2 separate regions of the Homo sapiens genome follow, and region 2 is linked to region 1. Evidence: promoter capture Hi-C in 16 types of primary human blood cells and fetal thymus (Javierre and others, 2016). All regions are on one chromosome and are shown on one strand. Each heading gives the region's core, a stretch centred on a gene start or on the middle of the fragment in contact. The rest is flanking DNA. Distances are from core to core; before and after follow the strand shown.

Region 1 (3,581 bases), core at 121-2,620:
CTGGGTTGGCAGGCGAGGCGGGGGCGGGCAGGGCAGGGGCGCACCTGAGCTTGGTGTGACAGTGCTTGCAGCAGAAGCAAGAGTTGTGGAAAATGAGCTTGTCGGCCACCAGCCGCTCCATGGGGTACACGGTCTTCTGGCAGGCGGCGCAGGTCTCCTTCACCTGGGCCCGCAGGCTGAAGGACTGTGCGGGAAGCTCAGCCAGGTGCTGCCCCAGTGCTCATCCCGCTCCCTCACACCCCTCCTCCCGCACACCCGGCCCCAGGCCCCTACCTTGGAGCGCTGCACCGTGCTGCTGCCGCCGCCTTTGGCGTCCTGAGGGAGAGGGGCGGTCAGGGCAGGGGCAGCTCCGGGAGGCCCTGGATCAGGGCTGCAGCCATCAGCCCAAGGCCCAGGGGCGCGCCGCAGGGCACAAAGGGGGCCGGCAAACTCTGATGCCTCTCCCCTTCACCCCAGGCCAGGCTCCTGTCCGGGGGGCCCTCCCACCCAGCCGGGCACTTACATGAGAGGGGGTGGCCTGGGCGGCTCCTGCAGCCTGGAACATGGCTCGTTGGAGGTGGAAGCCTCGGGTGGAGAAGCGGCACCCGCTGGGTTCTGCAAGGGGAAGTCAGTCGGGAGGGCCCCGCCAGCCCGGCCCCAGCCTGCAGGGTGGGGGGTGTTGACAGGCAGGGGCTGGGGGGATTGCGGTTGGGACTTTCCCTAAGTCATTTCCTGTTGCTCTTGGTCTTGCCACTTCCGCCCCTCACCCACCTCCCCCACCCCTGCTCCCCAGGGGCCGGGGTCCCGAGTGGCACCGTCCCTCGGAAGAACAAAGTTAGCGGGAGCGGAGGGGCCGGGGGCTCCCGCGCAGCCGCCGTGTGCGTCCCGCGGGCTGGGACCGCTTGGGGTGAGGGGAGGTCGGGGCCGGCGGGGCCGCGATGAGAAGCCGCTGCCCCGACCTGACCCCGGCCCTCGCTGCCCTGCGCCGCGCCCGGGCGTCCAGGCCTAGGCTGCGCAGCCCCTGGACAGCGCCCGAGGTCCCCGCCCGCCCCGCCCCTCGGCCCCCGACCTGGCCCCGCGAGGACCGGACCCCAGACCCCGACGCCGCGAGCCCCGCCAGCGGGTCTCGGCTCCGCCCAGCCGGGGGCCGGCCCTGAAACGAGGACTCGAGCCTGTGCGCCCCGGGCGAGAGCGGCTCGCAGACTCGCCGGGACCCCACGGGCGGCCCTCACCCCACACCCCTCGGCGCCTCTCCCGGTTCCGGAGCCGGACGCGGCCCCTCCCCCCGCGGCTCTCACCAGGCCCGGCCTGGGCCGCGGGGCGGGATCGGTCTCCGGGGGCGCACGGGTACGAGGAGGGCGCGGGCGCGAGCTGCTGCCGCTACCAGTGGTCCCCGAGCCACCGCCGCCGCCACCGCCTTATCGCTGCACCGCCCCCGCCGGCCCCCGCCCCGCGCCCGCCCATTGGCTCCGCCGCGCCCGGAGCCGCCTTCGGGGCCCCGGCGCCGCCGCCGACCCCCCTCCGCGCTTTGTCTTCCCCTCGCCGCCGTCCCCGCCTTTGTCTGTCCCCCGCCCCGGCTCCGCGCTCCCGGCTCCGCAGCGCCCCGCGGGCCTCGCGCTCGCAGGCCTCGGGTACCGGCCGCGCCGTCTGCCCATCCCGACGGCGGCCCGGCGTGGGGAAGCAACGGTGGCAGGGACAGGATGGAAGGGCCGCGCTCCGCATCCTACTGGGAGGGGACGAGTTCAGGCTGCGGCGGCTGCGGTCGCGGGACACTGGGCGCTCCCGGCCTGGCTCCGGGATAACCGGGCGGGGCCTGGGCCATTCACTGCCTCGGTTTCCCCCGGTTGGCCTCGCGCGTAGGCGCCGGCGCCCCCATCCCCGCCCAGAGCTGTGGGGCCGCAGAGACCCAGCCGGGGCGACCCCGGAGCCTGGCCCGGGGTCCCTCGGGCGGCCGAGTCCTCCCGCCGCCAGGGGCCGCCCCCGCCCCTTTGCGGCCCACGAGGCTGGCGGCGGCGTCCGGGCACGCGGTCTCCAGGCCCGGCCGCGAGGCTGCGGGGAGGAGCCTGCACGAGGGCCCGGCAGCCCCGGCAGCCCCCCCAGCCCTCGGCGCCTCTGCAACCCTGCGACGGGCTGGGGAGGCCGGTATGCGTGGTTCCCGGAGCACCCGTCCCCCGAGGCTCCACGTACTCAAGCGTTTCTGGGGCGGAATTCTGTGGGCAGCAACGGGGGCCCCCTCTCCAACAAGCGCACCTCATTTCTCACGTGGGAGCCGCGGCCCAGAGAGCTGAGGTGACAGAGCTTGGGCCGCAGAGCTGCTCCCTCCCTGCAGCCGCACAGCAGGCCGGAGGCACAGCCGGCGAGAGACGGCCACTCGCTTTGGAGCGGCGGCGAGGCCGGCGCCTTCCCGGGCACCAGGGACTGCGTGGCTTGGCCGGAAATCAGGCTAGAAGCAGCTCCGGGAAGCACAGCCCTTAGCCCAGCGCCTTCCCACACTGTGGCAGGAATAGCACTGGCGGCCCACGCGCTTGTCAGGGAACAGAACAGCTCTCGCCCGACGCCTGGCAGGGGAGCAGGGAGGCTGCAGCTTCCCCAGCGACCAGCTGTTTCCCAGGCTGGCGGACTCCACGGACCGGCTCCGCGTCTCCTCTCCAGCCTTCTGTTCTCTCTAGAGGAAGATCTGCGTTTTGTCTGCACTGTGGGCCGACTCTCTAGTGGGGAGCGTCAGACCCTCTAAAGTGGCTGCCTCTCGGGAAAGCTTCCACACCTGTCATCAGATTCTCCAAAGGGGCTGTTTGATGCAAGAAACGGGAAGCCCCGGGGGTACTAGGAGCAGGGCTTGCTGCCATTGGGCATGGTGAGGCCCCGGCACCCTGCCCAGGACGGGCCTGTGGGCTGAGCTGCAGATGGGCATTGAGGATGCCCCAACAGCAAGGTGCAGAAGGCATCCAGAAGCAAAGGAAACTGATGACCAGCGTCAAAAACAAACAAAAAAAGGGAACTTGGCTCGGCGGTGGCTCACGCCTGTAGTCCCAGCACTTTGGGAGGCAGAGACAGGTGGATCACGAGGTCAGAAGTCCAAGACCAGCCTGGCCAACATGGTGAAATCCCGTCTCTACTAAAAATACAAAAATTATCCAGGCGTGGTGGTGTGTGCCTGTAATCCTAGCTACTCGGGAGGCTGAGGCAGAAGAATCGCTTGAACCCGGGAGGTGGAGCCTACAGTGAGTCAACATGAAGCCAGTGCACGCCAGCCTGGGCGACAGACTCTGTGTTTGTGTGTGTGTGGGGGGGGGAGGGCGGGGCGAGGCGAAGGGAACTTGAGGTTTAAAGCAGGGGGAGGAGGGCCGGAAATGCTCCCCGCCGCCCCCGACACTCACTCGCCCCAGGCCCCATCCTAGCCCAGGGTCAGTGTCATTCCCTTCACCTTAGCCTCTCACTGCCCAAAGAGGCTTACTTTTCTTCTTTAAACTGCTGTTAAAATTTGGGAGGAAACGGAAAGCAAGGGCACCTGATGGTTCAGTGCAGCTTCAGGTTAGAGGGGCATTTGAGGTGCCTGAGCTGGGGGAGGGCCTTCCCCCTGAGGGACTGGGAGAAGGGTAAGC
Region 2 (3,581 bases), core at 1,082-3,581, 110 kb after region 1:
AGCAGTGTACAGTACAGATCTGCTGATTTGAAATCAAGAGTCTTTTTCTGAACCATACTGACAACTTGTCTTAACTAAAAATGTAATAAAAATAGAATAAGAGCAAATCTTTCCCTAGTGAATCAGTTTCTAAACTAAATTTAAAGTTCAGGTGAGCTTATGTAAAAAAACTGAATAATCCTGAATGCCAAAGAAGCTTAATGGGTATGCATAAAGATATCATATTGTTTCTCTAACAGAATTTATCTTACCTTTTAGCTCTCTTATTTAGTGCAACTTTTCGGAAGAAGATTGAAAAGTTGGCCAGAGACATCCTGATCGACCCTATTCGAGTGGTGCAGGGAGATATTGGAGAGGTAACCCTAAGCAGGGCTGGATGGGACCTTAATGGGTTTATTTCTCATATTATGGAACACAGAATTAATTTCTCACTATTGAGATAAAAAAAAAAGATGTTATGTTTATAGATGCAACATGCTTGAGATTGGGTATTTTGCAAGTTGTGGGGATAGACGTAACAAGACTGGCAAAATGTTGGGAATCATTGAAGCTAGGTGATGGGTATGAGTTGATTTTGTTCATTTTGTGTTTTTTTTGTTTTATTGAATGTCTCAAAACTTACAATTGTTTTAAAAAGGCTTCAAAGAGACAAAAAGATGTGCCTGGAAGCATCAGCGTATTAGGTTGGAACTGACGTTTTAATTATTGTGGTAGGGGCCTACGCAGGAGGGAAAGGGTGACCTGGAAGGCCTGGAAAAAATCAGGTTTCATTTCTTACCTGTACATATGCGCTATGTGAAAAATTACTCTGAATTGGGACTTGGAATTCAGTTATGGCTGCTTAGAGAATCCTTCAGTTGCTTGCCATGGTTATTGTTAAGGAAAGCTCTACAAAGTAGTGGGGCATACAAATTAGGTATGTACACCAGGTGGAGAGCAAGGTGATTGGAAAGGAGAGGTGAGTTTTGAGCTGCACTTGACTTGCTGAAGGCCCAAGGAGAACTGGGATTGTTCAAGGTCTTCTCGATGCAGGTAGAAATATAATGCCTAGTCCTTGTTCAGGTGCCCTGTGGCTCCAATGTCACAATCATCTGTTTCATTTCTTCCTTCTCAGGCAAATGAAGATGTGACACAGATTGTGGAGATTCTCCATTCTGGACCTAGTAAATGGAACTGGCTTACCCGGCGTCTGGTAGAATTTACCTCTTCAGGGAGTGTCCTCCTCTTTGTTACTAAAAAAGCCAATGCTGAAGAGCTAGCGAATAACCTTAAACAGGAGGGTCATAATCTTGGGCTGCTCCATGGGGATATGGATCAGAGTGAGAGAAACAAGGTCATTTCAGACTTTAAGAAAAAGGACATCCCAGTCCTGGTGGCCACAGATGTTGCAGGTAGAGTATGAATTTTTCAACAACATTAAGTTCCTAGGCTATAAGGGTACTCTGTCTTACTACATAAGACCTATAATATCTGAGCAGGCTGATGGAAAGACTGTTGGCCTGGCTGGCCATCCCCTCCCAAACCCCCAAGGAAGCAGCAGTTCAGCACAGGGATCACAGTCTGGAGCTCTAGATACCACTTTTCACTTAGTATTTCTCTCTAATCAAAGAATCCCTGCAGCTAGAAGTCACTCTGGGAAAAAAGGCAGTGAATGCCCTTATTGTATGTCTGAATATAGTAGATACCTTACCCTTACATTGATCTACTATACACAGCTTAGTTGGGCAACTTAACTCAGGATGAGAACAGTTTTTGGAATATAATTTCTGGATTTGTTCTGTCAAGTTTTAATAACTACCCTTAAACACTGATATTTTTTCCTAGAAAGGAGAGAACTTCTCAGCTTCATGACACATTTTAAATATATATTCCCAGTGCAAGAGAAGAGGGCATGGCAGATTACTGATGCAAAAGATAAAAGTCCCAGTCGGGCACGGTGGCTCACACCTGTAATCCCAGCATTTTGGGAGGTGGAGGCGGGCGGATCACCTGAGGTCAGGAGATCGAGACCATCCTGGCCAACATAGTGAAACCCCGTCTCTACTAAAAATACAAAAATTAGCTGGGTGTGGTGGCGCGTGCCTATAATCCCAGCTACTTGGAAAGCTGAGGCAGGAGAATTGCTTGAACCAGGGAGTCGGAGGTTGCAGTGAGCCGAGATCATGGCACTGCACTCCCGTCTGGCAACAGAGCAAGACTCCGTCTCTAAAAAATAAAAGTCCCTTACACTAGAAGGCCTAACATCATAGAATCTGTGGTGGTGACTTAACATGCCTGTATCTCAGCTCACCAAACCCATGCGCTTTGCCTAGATAAAGGAAATGTGGCTTATTAGCACTAGCATTTCTGGTTACTTTGATCTTCTGACTACAGATGAAGAATAAAAGAATTTGGTTGCTTTTTATTTCAGCCCGTGGTCTGGACATTCCTTCAATTAAGACTGTCATTAACTATGATGTGGCACGAGACATTGATACCCACACGCATAGGATTGGCCGCACAGGAAGAGCGGGTGAGAAAGGTGTGGCCTATACCCTACTCACTCCCAAGGACAGCAATTTTGCTGGTGACCTGGTCCGGAACTTGGAAGGAGCCAATCAACACGTTTCTAAGGAACTCCTAGATCTGGCAATGCAGGTGAGGGGCTGGGCACACTTTCAATTGCTCCTGGTTATAAGACCAAGACATTTTAGCAGTCCTGGAACAGATAACATAAAAACTTGACAAGAAAGTTGGGTGGCTAGGAGGATGTGGGGCTTATGAGGTACAGATAGGAATTGTGAGATACTAAAATTCATCTAGTCTTATCTGGTCTTCTTCTTTCAACAGCATCTGTTTTGAAAAGCTATTCCTTTGTGCTAAAATCTGTCGCTGTAATTTCTACCCCATAGCACACTTAGGAGTAAATTTAATCTCAAAGATGGTTACTATTCTCCTTACTGCTCTTCCCCCACAAAATTTTTCTTCTGGGAGGCTAAAAATGTGTGATGCCTTTAAAACAATATGTGTATAGTATAGTGCCCCCCCACCTTTTTTTTTTGAGACAGAATCTCACTCTATCGCCCAGGCTGCAGTGCAATGGCACGATCTCGGCTCACTGCAACCTCTGCCTCCTGGGTTCAAGCAATTCTCCTGCCTTAGCCTCCCAAGCAGTTGTGATTACAGGCGCCCACCACCACGCCTGGCCAATTTTTGTAATTTTAGTAGAGATGGGGTTTTGCCATGTTGGTCGGGCTGGTCTCGAACTCCTGACCTCAGGTGATCCGCCCGCCTCGGCCTCAACCTCCCAAAGTGCTAGGATTACAGGCGTGAGCCACCGTGCCCAGCCTGTATGGTGCCTCTTAACTGTTCCTTGCAGAGATCTCAGACCTCTGACCACACTGATTGCCCTCTTCCAGGTGTGCTCCAATCTAAAGCTAAGTGAGGCATTCTAACAAATCAAACCTGGAGTCATCTGAATCCATGCTGTCCCCAAATTACAAATGGGTTCGGAACACTTTCTGAGAGCAGAAACTGTTAAGAGTTTGTCAAATGCCTAGGCCAGCTCACACAACTGGTACAACCCAGCTGCAATGTGGCAG

The links. Contacts are between HindIII fragments. The CHiCAGO score rates a contact against its expected background, and 5 or more counts as called.
Region 2: a contact is called between a fragment that was not itself captured here and the fragment with the promoter of LIMD2 in region 1, in 7 of 17 cell types (naive CD8 T cells, naive CD4 T cells, total B cells and 4 more). The highest score is 7.7, in naive CD8 T cells.

Annotation. Positions count from the first base shown.
Region 1 is chr17:63,698,755-63,702,335 of GRCh38, forward strand. It overlaps LIMD2 (LIM domain containing 2), which reads right to left and starts at 1,371. Exons shown (of 5, transcript NM_030576.4): 1 at 1,278-1,371; 2 at 503-594; 3 at 274-315; 4 at 45-184. The coding sequence starts at 544. It overlaps LOC729683 (a long non-coding RNA gene), which reads left to right and starts at 1,584. Exons shown (of 1, transcript NR_046273.1): 1 at 1,584-3,581. RefSeq lists silencers at 250-479, 570-1,029, 1,120-2,079, 3,270-3,349 and enhancers at 1,784-2,369, 2,370-2,954, 2,750-2,849. The HindIII fragment of the contact is 14,945 bases long and covers 1-2,732 here.
Region 2 is chr17:63,810,818-63,814,398 of GRCh38, forward strand. DDX42 (DEAD-box helicase 42) reads left to right here. Exons shown (of 18, transcript NM_203499.3): 13 at 259-356; 14 at 1,115-1,391; 15 at 2,411-2,637. Among named protein-coding and RNA genes, the nearest start is that of PSMC5, 15 kb to the right of the region's middle. The HindIII fragment of the contact is 4,274 bases long and covers 195-3,581 here.